2 separate regions of the Homo sapiens genome follow, and region 1 is linked to region 2. Evidence: promoter capture Hi-C in human tissues and cell types (Jung and others, 2019). All regions are on one chromosome and are shown on one strand. Each heading gives the region's core, a stretch centred on a gene start or on the middle of the fragment in contact. The rest is flanking DNA. Distances are from core to core; before and after follow the strand shown.

The links. The method cuts DNA at HindIII sites, captures the fragments that hold promoters and counts their contacts. A contact is called where the count stands out against the background at its distance.
Region 1: a contact is called between a fragment that was not itself captured here and the fragment with the promoter of NPFFR1 in region 2, in 6 of the 25 tissues and cell types used here (IMR-90 fibroblasts, hippocampus, lymphoblastoid cells and 3 more).

What each region holds. Positions count from the first base shown.
Region 1 is chr10:70,199,624-70,205,316 of GRCh38, forward strand. It overlaps PPA1 (inorganic pyrophosphatase 1), which reads right to left. Exons shown (of 11, transcript NM_021129.4): 10 at 5,250-5,292; 11 at 3,212-3,563. The coding sequence ends at 3,532. Among named protein-coding and RNA genes, the nearest start is that of PPA1, 31 kb to the right of the region's middle. The HindIII fragment of the contact is 5,068 bases long and covers 1-4,205 here.
Region 2 is chr10:70,279,984-70,286,113 of GRCh38, forward strand. It overlaps NPFFR1 (neuropeptide FF receptor 1), which reads right to left and starts at 4,021. Exons shown (of 4, transcript NM_022146.5): 1 at 3,687-4,021. The coding sequence starts at 3,693. RefSeq lists an enhancer at 3,228-3,729. The HindIII fragment of the contact is 15,240 bases long and covers 1-6,130 here.

The DNA of each region.
Region 1 (5,693 bases), core at 422-2,921, 83 kb before region 2:
CCTAAAATGTACTCACCAAACAACAGAGCCTCAAAATACATTAAACAAAAACTGATAGAGCTAAAAGTTCAAAGGCCTCTATGGTTATAATCAGGGAATTCAAAACCTCCATTTCAGTAATTGATAGAACTACTAGAGAGAAAATCAGCAAGGGTATAGAAGATCAGAACAATACATAAACCAACAGGATCTCACTGACATAAACAGAACACTCCACCCAACAATAACAAAACACACGCACCCATGAAACACTCTGGACAGACCATCAAACAACCTCAATAAAAGAATCAAAATGACAGCATGTTCTCTGACCACAATGGAGCCAAACTAGAAATTAGTAACAGAAACACATTAGGAGATGTCTAAACACATGACTAGAATTGATCTATAGATTTAATGCAATGCCTACTAAAATCCCAGTACGATTTTTTACAGGCATAGACAATAGACATAGCCAAAACTTATTCTAAAATACATATGAAGATGCACAGGCCCTAGTTATACAATCTTGACAAAGAAGAATAAAGTGGGAAGAATCTATTTGATTTTAAGGCTTACCATGTAACTATAGTCATCAAGAGAGTGTGGTATCGGCAGACGGTCAGACATACAGATCAATGGAATGTAACAGAGGACCCAGAAATAGGCCCACACAGATATGCTCAATGGATATTTGACAAGCGTGCAAAACAATTCAATGGAAGAATAAGCTTTCAAAAAAATGGCGTTGGAGCAACCGGACATCCATAGGAAAAAATGAACCCATACCTAAACCATAAACCTTATATAAAAATAAACACAAAATGAATCATAGGCTTAAATGTAAGCTATAAAACTTTTAGAGAAAAACACAGGAGAAAATATTGTGATCTAGGGCTAGGAAAAGTTCTAACTTGATACCTAAAGAATGACCATAAAAGGAAAATGTGGTAAGTTGGTCTTTTTAAAAATTAAAAGATTTTGCTCTGTGAAAGAGTATGTGAAAAAAATGAAAGAACAAGTTGCCAACTGGGAAAAAAATGTTTGCAAACCAAATATCTGAACTCTGAAGGACTCCAAAACTTAACATTAAAAATGAAACTAAACAATTTTAAAATGAGTAAATGACATGAACAGACATTTCACCAAACAGGATATACAGGTGGCAAACAAGCACATGAAAAGATGTTTAACATCATTAGCTATTAGAGAAATGCAAATTAAAACTACCATGAGATACTACTACACACCCAACAGAATGGCTAAAATAAAATATAGTAGGCCAGGCAGGGCAGCTCACACTTGTAATTCCAGCAGCACTTTGGAAGGCCGAGGCGGGCGGGTCACTTGAGCCCAGGAGTTCGAGACCAGCCTGGGCAACATGGTGAAACCTCATCTCTACAAAAATTAGCTGGGCATTATGGCACACAACTGTATTCCCAGCTACTTGGGAAACTGAGGCAGGAGGATTGCTTGAGCCTGGGAGGTGGAGGTTGCAGTAAGCCAAGATTGTGCCACTGCATTCCAGCCTGGGTGACAGTGAGACCCTGTCTCAAAAAAAAAAAAAAAAAGGCAAACCAAATGCTGGCAAGGATGTGGAAAAATTGAATCACTCCAACATTGCTGTTGGGAATGTAAAATGTGACCATAACTCTAGAAAATTTGGTACCTTCTAATAAAACATGCATCTATCATGTGACTCAGCAATTACACTGCTAGAGATCTGAGAGAAATGAAAATGTTTTATGTTGACGTGAAAACATGTACAAATATGTTCATTGCAGCTGTATCTGTAATAGCCAAACACTGGATCAGCCCAGATGTCCTTCAACAGGTAAAACAAAACATATCATGGAAAGTACTCAGCAATAAAAAGGAATGAATAAAAAGAATGAAACATTGATATATGTGGCAACTTGAAGGAATACCGGGGAATTACACTGAGTGAAAAGCCAATCCTGAAAGGTTACATACTGTATGATTCCATTTATATAATATTCTTGAAATGACAAAATCATAGAAAAATGGAGGACAGATTAGTGGTTGCCAGGGGTTACGGATGGTGGTGTGCAGAAGACAGGGGGGAGGTGGGTGTGATTATAAAAGGGCAACACGAGAGATCTTGTGGTGTTGAAACTGTTCAATATCTTATAGGATACATAAACTTACCTAGGTGATTACACTATAGAATTATAAATTATATAGAATACATCATACAAATATTCATTAATACAGTGAAACTAGGAAGTCTGAATATGATTGGTGGATTTGGAGTCTGTATATGATTGGTGGATTATATCAAAGTCAATGTCCTGGTTGTTATACTATAGTTTTACAAAATCTTACTTTTAGGAGAAACAGGGTAAGGTATACAGAATTATTTGAATTATCTCTGAATTACTTTTTTAGAACTACATGTGAATCTATATTCATCTCAATAAAATTTTCATTAAAAAAATCTGAATGGGCTGGGCACAGTGGCTCACACCTCTAATCCCAGCACTTTGGGAGGCTGAGGTGGGTGGATCACTTGAGGACAGGAGTTCGAGAGCAGCCCGGCCAACGTGGTGAACCCCGTCTCTACTAAAAATACCAGAATTAGTCAGGCATTGTGGTGCATGCCTGTACTCCCAGCTACTTGGGAGGCTGAGGCAGGAGAATCACTTGAACCCAGGAGGCAGAGGTTGAAGTGGGCCGAGATCACACCACTGCACTCCAGCCTGGGCGACAGTGAGACCCTGTTTCAAAAAAAAAAAAAAGAATCTGAATGCATACTACATGCCATTACATGAATAATGTCTGTTTCACAGATGAAGGAACTGAAGTTGAGTGGTTGGTAAACTGACTTAAGATTACAGAGCTAGTAAGAAGATGGGCTGGCATTCAAACTGGTTTGTTCAGCTGATAACTTAGAATATAATATAAATGACTTAAGCGTCCAATTAGTTGACTGAAGAAGTAAAAAAATAACTATTAATATATAACTTCAAAGGGTGAGCAACATTGTGCTTTCTGCTAATATGATATAAATTTAAAAACTTTTGCTTTAGAATGGTATGCTAGGACTTATGTACTAGAGCATAGTATCAAGAGTACTATAAATATAAGCGATTTCTTCGTCTAATAATTATAAATTTGAATTATAAGACTATCAACAGAAAACAAACACCAAAAAATACCCATACCTACTTAATGTTGGCTTCAGATTAAAATAAAAATATCCTAAGCCAAGTTTCAGCAAAATAATTTTATTTCCTAACATATGGTAACATATACATCCAATATGTGCTCCCCTTGCACATCTATTCACAAGTGACTTCCAAATGACAACTGCTTTGATATTTAAGCATGTGCTAAAAGTTATCTTAGTTGAGATATGAAAAATGCTTTAGATGGATAACATTCTGAGTATATTGGATTAGTCACAGCAGAATTTACTTTAGTTAGATGAGTTCTACAAATTTAAAGCTTTGAAAAGCTACTACTTTTACTTCTAATACATCCAGATGAACACGATGTAGCAATATCAGCTTGTATTCCAGAGAAATCTCATTAGTTTTTCTGGTGATGGAACCACTTATCCACTGTATTCAGAGAAAAGAAAAACAAATTAGAATTCCTGTTGAGAATCAAAAATACACCTAACATATAACAAAGACTAATATACTTGCTTTAATGAATCCTACTATGAATTACCTGAAAATTAACAGGCATACATACAAAATTTCTCTACAGCAAATGCAGGTGTTTTCTTTTGGGCTTCCTTACACTTCATGCTAATTGCATAGTGTGATTTTCAAACTTTTTTTTTTAATTTCGAGACAGGGTCTCACTCTCTTGCCCAGATTGCAGTGCAGTGGCAGCAATCATGGCTCACTGCAACCTCCATCTTCCAGGTTCAAGCAATTCTCGTGCCTCAGTCTCCCCAGCAGCTGGTATTACAGACGTGTGCCACCACATCTAGCAAATTTTTGTATTTTTTTTTTGTAGAGACATGGTTTCTCCATGTTGGCCAGGCTGGTCTCGAACTCCTGGGCTCAAGTGATCCGCCCGCCTCAGCCTCCCAAAGTGCTGGGATGACAGGTGTGAGCCACCACACCCAGCCTTCAAACTTGTTTTTTTAAGTGGCAGAATCATTTTCTTACCAGAAAAATCTTACAGAGAATTCTGACATCTAAGGAGGAGAGAACTGTTTTCTGGGTGAAGCAGCCTGTGGCCAGGTGGGAATGTGGAGATCAGCCCACTCAGGGTCCCCTCCAGTGTCCAGCGGGCACCTCCATGGAACTCAGAGGGGCACAATGGGTCATGGTTTGGAAACCACTGTGATACAGTGTGGCACTAAAGGTGGTATGTAGCAGCTCATCTTCCTTCCCACGTACACTACAGAATTCTAAAAATGCTTCTCTTCTCACCCTTCTTCCCTCTCTTCCTGTGTATGTTAAAAATATGTACGTGGCTGCGTGCAGTGGCTCACGCCTGTAATCCTAGCACTTTGGGAGGACAAGGTAGGTGGATCGCCAGCCTGGGTGACATGGCGAAACCCGGCCTGATTAGTGTTCAAGACCAGCCTGGTTCGAGACCTGGTTTGAGACCAGCTTGGGCAACATGGTGAAACTCTATCTCTACAAATTATAAAAAAATTAGACAGGTATGGTGGCACATGTCTGCAGTCCCAGCTATTTGGGAGGCTGAGATGGGAGAATCACTTTAACTTGGGGGGGTTACGGGTACAATGAGCTGTGATTGTGCCCCTGCACTCCAGCCTGGGTGACAGAGTGACAGCCTGGGTGACTCTGTGTCAAAAAACAAAAAACAAGCCAGGTACAGAAAGACAAATACCACATGATCTCATTTATATGTGCAATATAAAAAAGGTAAATTCATAGAGGTAGAGAGTAGAATGGTGGTTGCCAGGAGCTGAAGGATGGGGAAAGGGCAGGCGATGGTCAAAGGGTACCAAGTTTTAGTTAGACAAAAGGAATAAGCTTTAGTGATCTATTGCACAGGATGGTGACTGTAACATCTATTTCAAAATTGCTAAGAGTAGATTTCAAATGTTTTTACCACACAACAAATAATGATTAAGTATGTGAGGTAATGATTTCGTAATTAGCCAGATTTAATCATTCCACATTGTAAACATATATCAAAACATCACACTGTACCCATAAATATATTTAATTATCATTTGTCAACTAAAAATAAAAGTAACATAATTTTTCCATAACTGTGTAATGTTTAATGAAATTTTACTGGAATAGAAATCTTACCGTCTGTTGGTACTGTGCAGGCAGATTCACAGGGTGGTGGTAACTAAAATATAAAATATTAAAATCTATTAGTCTAATCTCATTTTTTAAAAAGCTAAAAAGGTATACTGACAAAAATTTAAGAGAATCTGAAGACTATCCCAAATTTTAGGATCTAAACGTAATTTATAATATATAGGAACAATAGAAGGTTTGCTCTACTGCTGAGATGCTAACAAATTCAAGCCTCTTGGACAGTGCAGTGGCTCATGCCCATAATCCCAACACTTCGGGAGGCTGAAGTGGGTGGATCACAAGGTCAGGAGTTCAAGACCAGCCTGGCCAAGATGGTGAAACCCCGTCTCTACTAAAAATAAAAGCTGGGCATGGTGGCGGGCACCTGTAATCCCAGCTGCTCGGGAGGCTGAGGCAGAGAACCGCTTGAACCTGGGAGGCGGAGGTTGC
Region 2 (6,130 bases), core at 2,771-5,270:
TCTTTCTGTGCTTGACTTATTTTACGTAGTATAATGTTCTCCAATATTGTCCATGATGTTTTAAATGACACAATTCTGTCTTTTTAAAGGCTGAATAGTATTCCATTGTGTTTACATACCCCATGTTCCTCATCCATTCATCGGTTTATATACACTTAGTTGATTCCATAGCCTGGCTATTGTGGATAGCGCTGCAATAAACACGGTGGTGCAAACATCTCTTCAAGTAACTCATTTCAGATTTTGGGGTAAGTACCCAGAAATGAACTTGCTGGATCATATGGTAATTCCGTTTTTAGCTTTTTGAGGAACCTCCATACTATTCTCCATAATGACTGTGCAAATTTATTACATTCCCACCAACACCACACAAGGGTTCTCTTTTCTCCACATCTCCAACAACACTTACTTATCTTTCGTCTTTTTGGTAAAAGCCATCCTGACAGGTATGAGATGATGTCTCATTGCGGTTTTAACTTGCATTTTCCTAATCATCAGTGATATTGGGCATTTTTTCATATACCTGTTAGCCATTTGTATGTCTTCTTTCGAGAAATGTCTATTCAGATTTCTTACCATGTTTTAATTGGGTTTTTTGTTTTCTTGCTGTTGAGTTGTTTGAGCTCCTGGATTTGTTCTTAGTGAGTACTAATATAGGCTCCTAATGAACAATACATTATTTTCTTTCTTTTTGAAAACGCTTTTTTGTTTTGTTGTGCTTATTATAAAAGAATTCTAGGCTGGGCGTAGTGGCTCACACCTGTAATCCCAGCACTTTGAAGGGCCGAGGCGGGCAGATCACGAGGTCAGGAGTTCAAGACCAGCCTGGCCAACATGGTGAAACCCTGTCTCTACTAAAAACACAAAAATTAGCCAGGCATGATGGCACATGCCTGTAATCCCAGCTACTCAGGAGGTTGAGGCAACAAAATTGCTTGAACCTGGGAGACAGAGGTGGCAGTGAGCCGAGAACACGCCACTGCACTCCAGCCTGGGCAACAGGGCGAGACTCCGTCTCAAACAACAACAACAACAACAACAAAGAATTCTGAGCACCGCAAAAGAGAGAGTAAACCTGACAGAACCCTCACATCCAGAGATAACCCCTATGTTTGTGATGCTCTCTGCCTGCCACATCCCATTGGCCCAAAGATTTCAGCTGGGGTGAATGGTTCCTCAAATTTTTAGCACCCCACCAGGTCTGCACCTGGGAGTCTCTCTGCTCTGCTTCCTCTGAAGTCACAAAAAGGGACAACCCAAAACTGCAGGAGTGGGGCAATACCAGACCAGTGGGGAGGTGAAGCAGCCAACGCCACCTCTTAGGTGGGGTAAACCTCGGGTTCACCCTGCACTTTTCTCAGAGTGTCCCCAGCAGGATAGAACCCCCCAGTTGCCCACAGCTAAAACCAGCTCATTAAGGCACCCATTTCTTGCCTTTTCTCCCTTCTTCATCTCACTCTCCTCATTCCCTCACTTCCACTGCCCGGCATCATCTCCCAAATAGACTCCCTATATCCAAGCTCTTGTCTTAGGGTCTGCTTTCAGAAGCAGGAGAATCAAACAAAGATGTTAGTGACTACCTCTTTGCGTATACACTTGTATATGTATATTTCCAATAATAAACCTATGTAATTTTGCATAAAGGGGATCACACTACACATGCATTCAAAAACCTGTTTTTTTTTCTAATTACTCACAGTGGGTAGTGAACATATTTCCATGTCAATAAAGAAAATCCTAAGCACAGTTTTTAATGTCTGCATAGTATGCCATTGCAGAAGTGTCTCATTTTTTATTTAATTTACATAATTTATGGCTATCTGGATGGTTTCCAATTTTGCACTGTGATGAACATGCTCAGGCACACATCTTTGCAAGTGTGCAGCTCAGAATTTGAAAAAATTCTGAGCTGAGGGAGTGCGTTGTTGTCTCCTAAGTGTACACTGTGTTTGGTCATTTCTTCTGGAATTTTAATAGAGGTCAAAACTAATCTTAGCAGTGTAGAGGCTTTTTAGATAAAAAATTTATATTTCCCTTTTTTGAAAATCAGGACATTTGCCCATCTTCAGTTTTCTGGCACTTCCTTCATTCTCTGTAGTTTCCTCAAAAGCAATGATTATATCTGTAAATACCTCTGGGTCGCTGGGATGTCATATGTCTGGGCTTCAATGAGTGAGCTCATTGTAGGTAACTTGATGTCTTCTTCCTATCGCTTGACTATCTTGGGTCTCTATTTCCTCCTTATCCTCTTTATTCCACAATTTGAAGTAAAATTGCCTGTATCTTGCTCTGCCTGCCCTCGAGCCTAAGCCAGAGCAGATTCCTTCTTGTTATTCTTAGACTTTGAAAGCTTTTTGCTCTTGTCTTTGCCAATTTCCCCCGACTTCTGTTCACTGGAGCTTCAGGGCTTTGCTAACGCCATTCTTACAGATCTGCCAATCTTCCAGATTCCTCTTGGGTTATTGATTCCTTCTTGCCTCTTTTGTGTGTGTGCTTTTCATACCCTGGCTCATTGGAAAACTACAAGTGCAGCCTCACAAGATTTTCTATAAAACTTGATTTTATTTTTTAACAGCAGTGTTTGCAATTACTAATTGGAATTTTGGGGTTTTATTACCTCTTGCCACAGCTGCCTCATACTGGCGTGTTGTACAACATATCTTATTTTATCCTCACAGACACTCTCTGAAGCCAGCTGAATGTTAAGTTCCCCCATTCGATAGATGGGTGACCAGTGGCACAGAAAGGTTTAGGCACTATCTCAAAGACACCCAGCAAGACAGTGGACGAGCCCTTGGTTTTCCAGTTTCTTAGCCTAAATATGGTTCCCCTTGTCCACAATGGCTGAGAGAGGGTTCTGGTAAAGTGGGAGCAAGCAGCCTTATGCCTTGGTCCGCTATCCCTTAAAATCCTGAAGGTAAGGTCCATAGTTCACTCTCCTTTCCTTAGGGAGAGAAATTCTCTCTACATGGAGGATATCACCTCTAGAATCCCATCTCCCCAACAACCCCACCCCTTCAAGCAGACAAAGTCGGTGACAATTCTTCTGAAGCTAATAGCCAAGCTGTCCTCACCTGGTCTCAAATGATTCTCTGCTCAGACAGCAGGGATTGTGTGCGTGCACACACACAACAGGGACTCTCTCTTTTTGTGTGTGTGTGTGTGTGTGTCTTGTACATGCACACACATATGTACAACACAAATACAGAGGCACCCCAGGTCTTTCTCTCTCTCTCTCACTCTCTCTCTCTCTCTCACACACACACACAAGCACAACATGAATACAGAGGCACCCCCAAGTGTTTCTCTGCCTGTCTCTGTCTCCCTCTCTCAGTGTCTGTCTCTATGTCTCTGTCTCTGTCTCTCTCTCTCTCTCTCTTTCACACACACAGGCACAACATGAATACAGAGCACCCCCAGGTCTTTCTCTCCATCTGTCTCTTTCTGTCTGTCTGTTTTTCTGTCTCACATACACACGCACACACACACACACCATGAACACATGGGCACCCCAGGTCTCTCTCCCTCACTCAGTGTCTCTGTCTCTGTCACACACAGAGTGTCACAACGTCTGGCTCTGGACAGCCATGGGTGATCAGCTGCCCGGCCCTCTCCTCTCCCTTCGCCCCATGCCCCGGAGTCGGTACCCTGCCCCACGGCTGGCCCCCAGCCCCAGGACCACTCACCCTCCATGATGCCCCCAGTTGCGGGCTCCGGCGGTCTCCGATGGCGGGAGGCAGCGGGCCCCTTCGGGCCAGCGGGCAGAGGGACGGTCTCCGGGCACTTGGTTGCGGGCTGCGCCCCTGCCTCCGCGCTCCGCAGGTCCGGTCGGTCCGGGCAGAGGTGAGCAGGGGGCGTGCGCTCCCAGGCCCCGGGCCCTGGCCGGTTTCCCTCCCCTCGGGCTGACTGGCTCCCGCGCAGCGCTGCTGCCCGCAGGGCTCAGCCGCCCGCCGCCCCTCGCCTCCCGACCAGGGGAAGGAGGGGGCTCGTGAGGCGCAGTCGTCATGGCACCCGCGCACCTGTGCCCGCCGAGCGAGGGCGCCCCGGGCCCGCCTCCCGCATGGCGCTCTCTCCACAGAGCCCGAGCGCCCCTCCGAAGTAGGGGACACACCCCTCCTCCCACTGCAGCCCTGGCAGCGGCGTCCCGTAATTCCCCACCTCTCTCCCGTGCCTCATATGCCAGCCTCTGTCCCCACTCCTCATCCTTGCCCACCCTAGCCTGGGGTCCAGCACTCTGGGCCTTCCTGAGAAGGGGATGAGAGGTAGCTGTGAAAACAGGAGGGCTTCGGGAGGGAGGCAGGGGGGAGCCCCACCAGCTCCCGGCTCTCCCAGGAGAATGGGGACAAGTTCTGCTAGGTGACCACGGCTTTGAAATTAACCAGTTCAGGCATTCACCGGGTGGTACCCTTGGAAAAGTTTCTTATAATAATACCTGTGCCTGAGTGTGTTTCTGCATTTGTAAAATGATTTTGAGGGGAGTAAATGTGATACCAAAGTTTCAGCCCAGCCCATAGTAGATGCTCAACAAATGGTTCCTTGAGCTGAATTGGAGAATACTCATCTCCAGCCCCTGTCAGGCACCCAGCAGGCACCACCATAAATTTTCGCCACATGAATAAAGATCCCAGGTTCTATCTGCACTCCTGTGTTTTTCTTGCAGCACTGTTTACAATAGCTAAGATTTGGAAGCAACCTAAGTGTCCATCAACAGATGAACGGATAAAGAAAATATGGTACATATATGTAAATGGAGTACTATTCAGCCATAAAAAAGAATGAGATCCAGTCATTTGCAACAACATGGATGGAACTGGAAATCATTATATTAAATGAAATAAGCCAGGCACAGGAAGCAAACGTCACATGTTCTTACTTATTTGTGAGATCTAAAAATCAAAACAGTTGAACTCATGGACATAGTAGAAGCATGTGGTTACCAGAAGCAGGGAAGGGTAGTGGGAGGATAGGGATGGTTAATGGGTACAAAAAAATAGCTAGAAAGAATGAATAAGACCTATTGTTTGACAGCACAATAGGGTGACTATAGTCCATAATAACTTAATTGTATATTTTTAAATAGCTTAAAAAGTATAATTGGATTGTTTGTAACTCAAAGGATTAGTGCCTGAAGGGATGGATACCCCATTCTCCATGATGTGCTTATTTCACATTACATGCCTGTATCAAAACACCTCATGTACCCCATAAATATATACACCTACTATGTACCCAACTATTTTTTTAAAAAAAGATCCCATGTTCTAGGCAGATGAAAGAAAGTGAATGGTCTATTCCTTCCTCTTTTAGGAGTCAGGAGTTTGCTCACTGGACACTGGGGAAACAGTTGGCATCAAGATTCTTCCTAGTCTCACTTCTTTCCCTAGTTCCTCCTCTGTCCAGAGCAGTGGGCAGAGTCTCACAGCTAGAAGGTCCTTAGGGGTCACTGAGTCTAACCCTGACCCAGAGCGGGCATCCTGACCCTAATCCCCAGCAAGAAGTATCCCCAGCAATGGGTACCTCTGCCATCATGTCCCTCTCTCTTCCCCTAGGGCAGCCCTTCAGAGGTCAAGTGGGAGGGAAGTTGCTCCTTCAACGCTGCTGTTCTACTGGAGAAACACAAGAATTTCACTGGGCTTTTTTCTTTCTGTGACTTGCCTCAGTCTCTTCATCTGTAAAATGGGCATAATAATGGCACCTATCTCCTATAGTTGTGAAGATTAAAGCAGTTACTATATACAAAGCATGTGAAACAGTGCTTTGCATATAGACAGTACGCAAGAAATATTATTCATCTTATCACTATCTTGAGTCCACCTCCCTGTAGAAGTGCTCACATTTCTTGAAGTCCCTCTGATAAAACCCAGAAGTATGTCAGGTCATATTAAGCCCCCTTGAGCAATGCAGAGTTTGAGGCACTGTGCTGTAAAGTCTGTATAGCCCAGCACTGCCATTTAGAGTTGGTGCGCTTTGGGAAATTTATATGTCTTTGTGCCTGAGTTTCCTCTCATCTACAAAATAGGGATAATAGTACCTACCATGTAGGGTTATGAGAATTAAATGAGTTAATATATGTAAAGCCCTGACAACATGTAGGTACTCAATAAATATGAGCTACAATTACAGGGGCAAT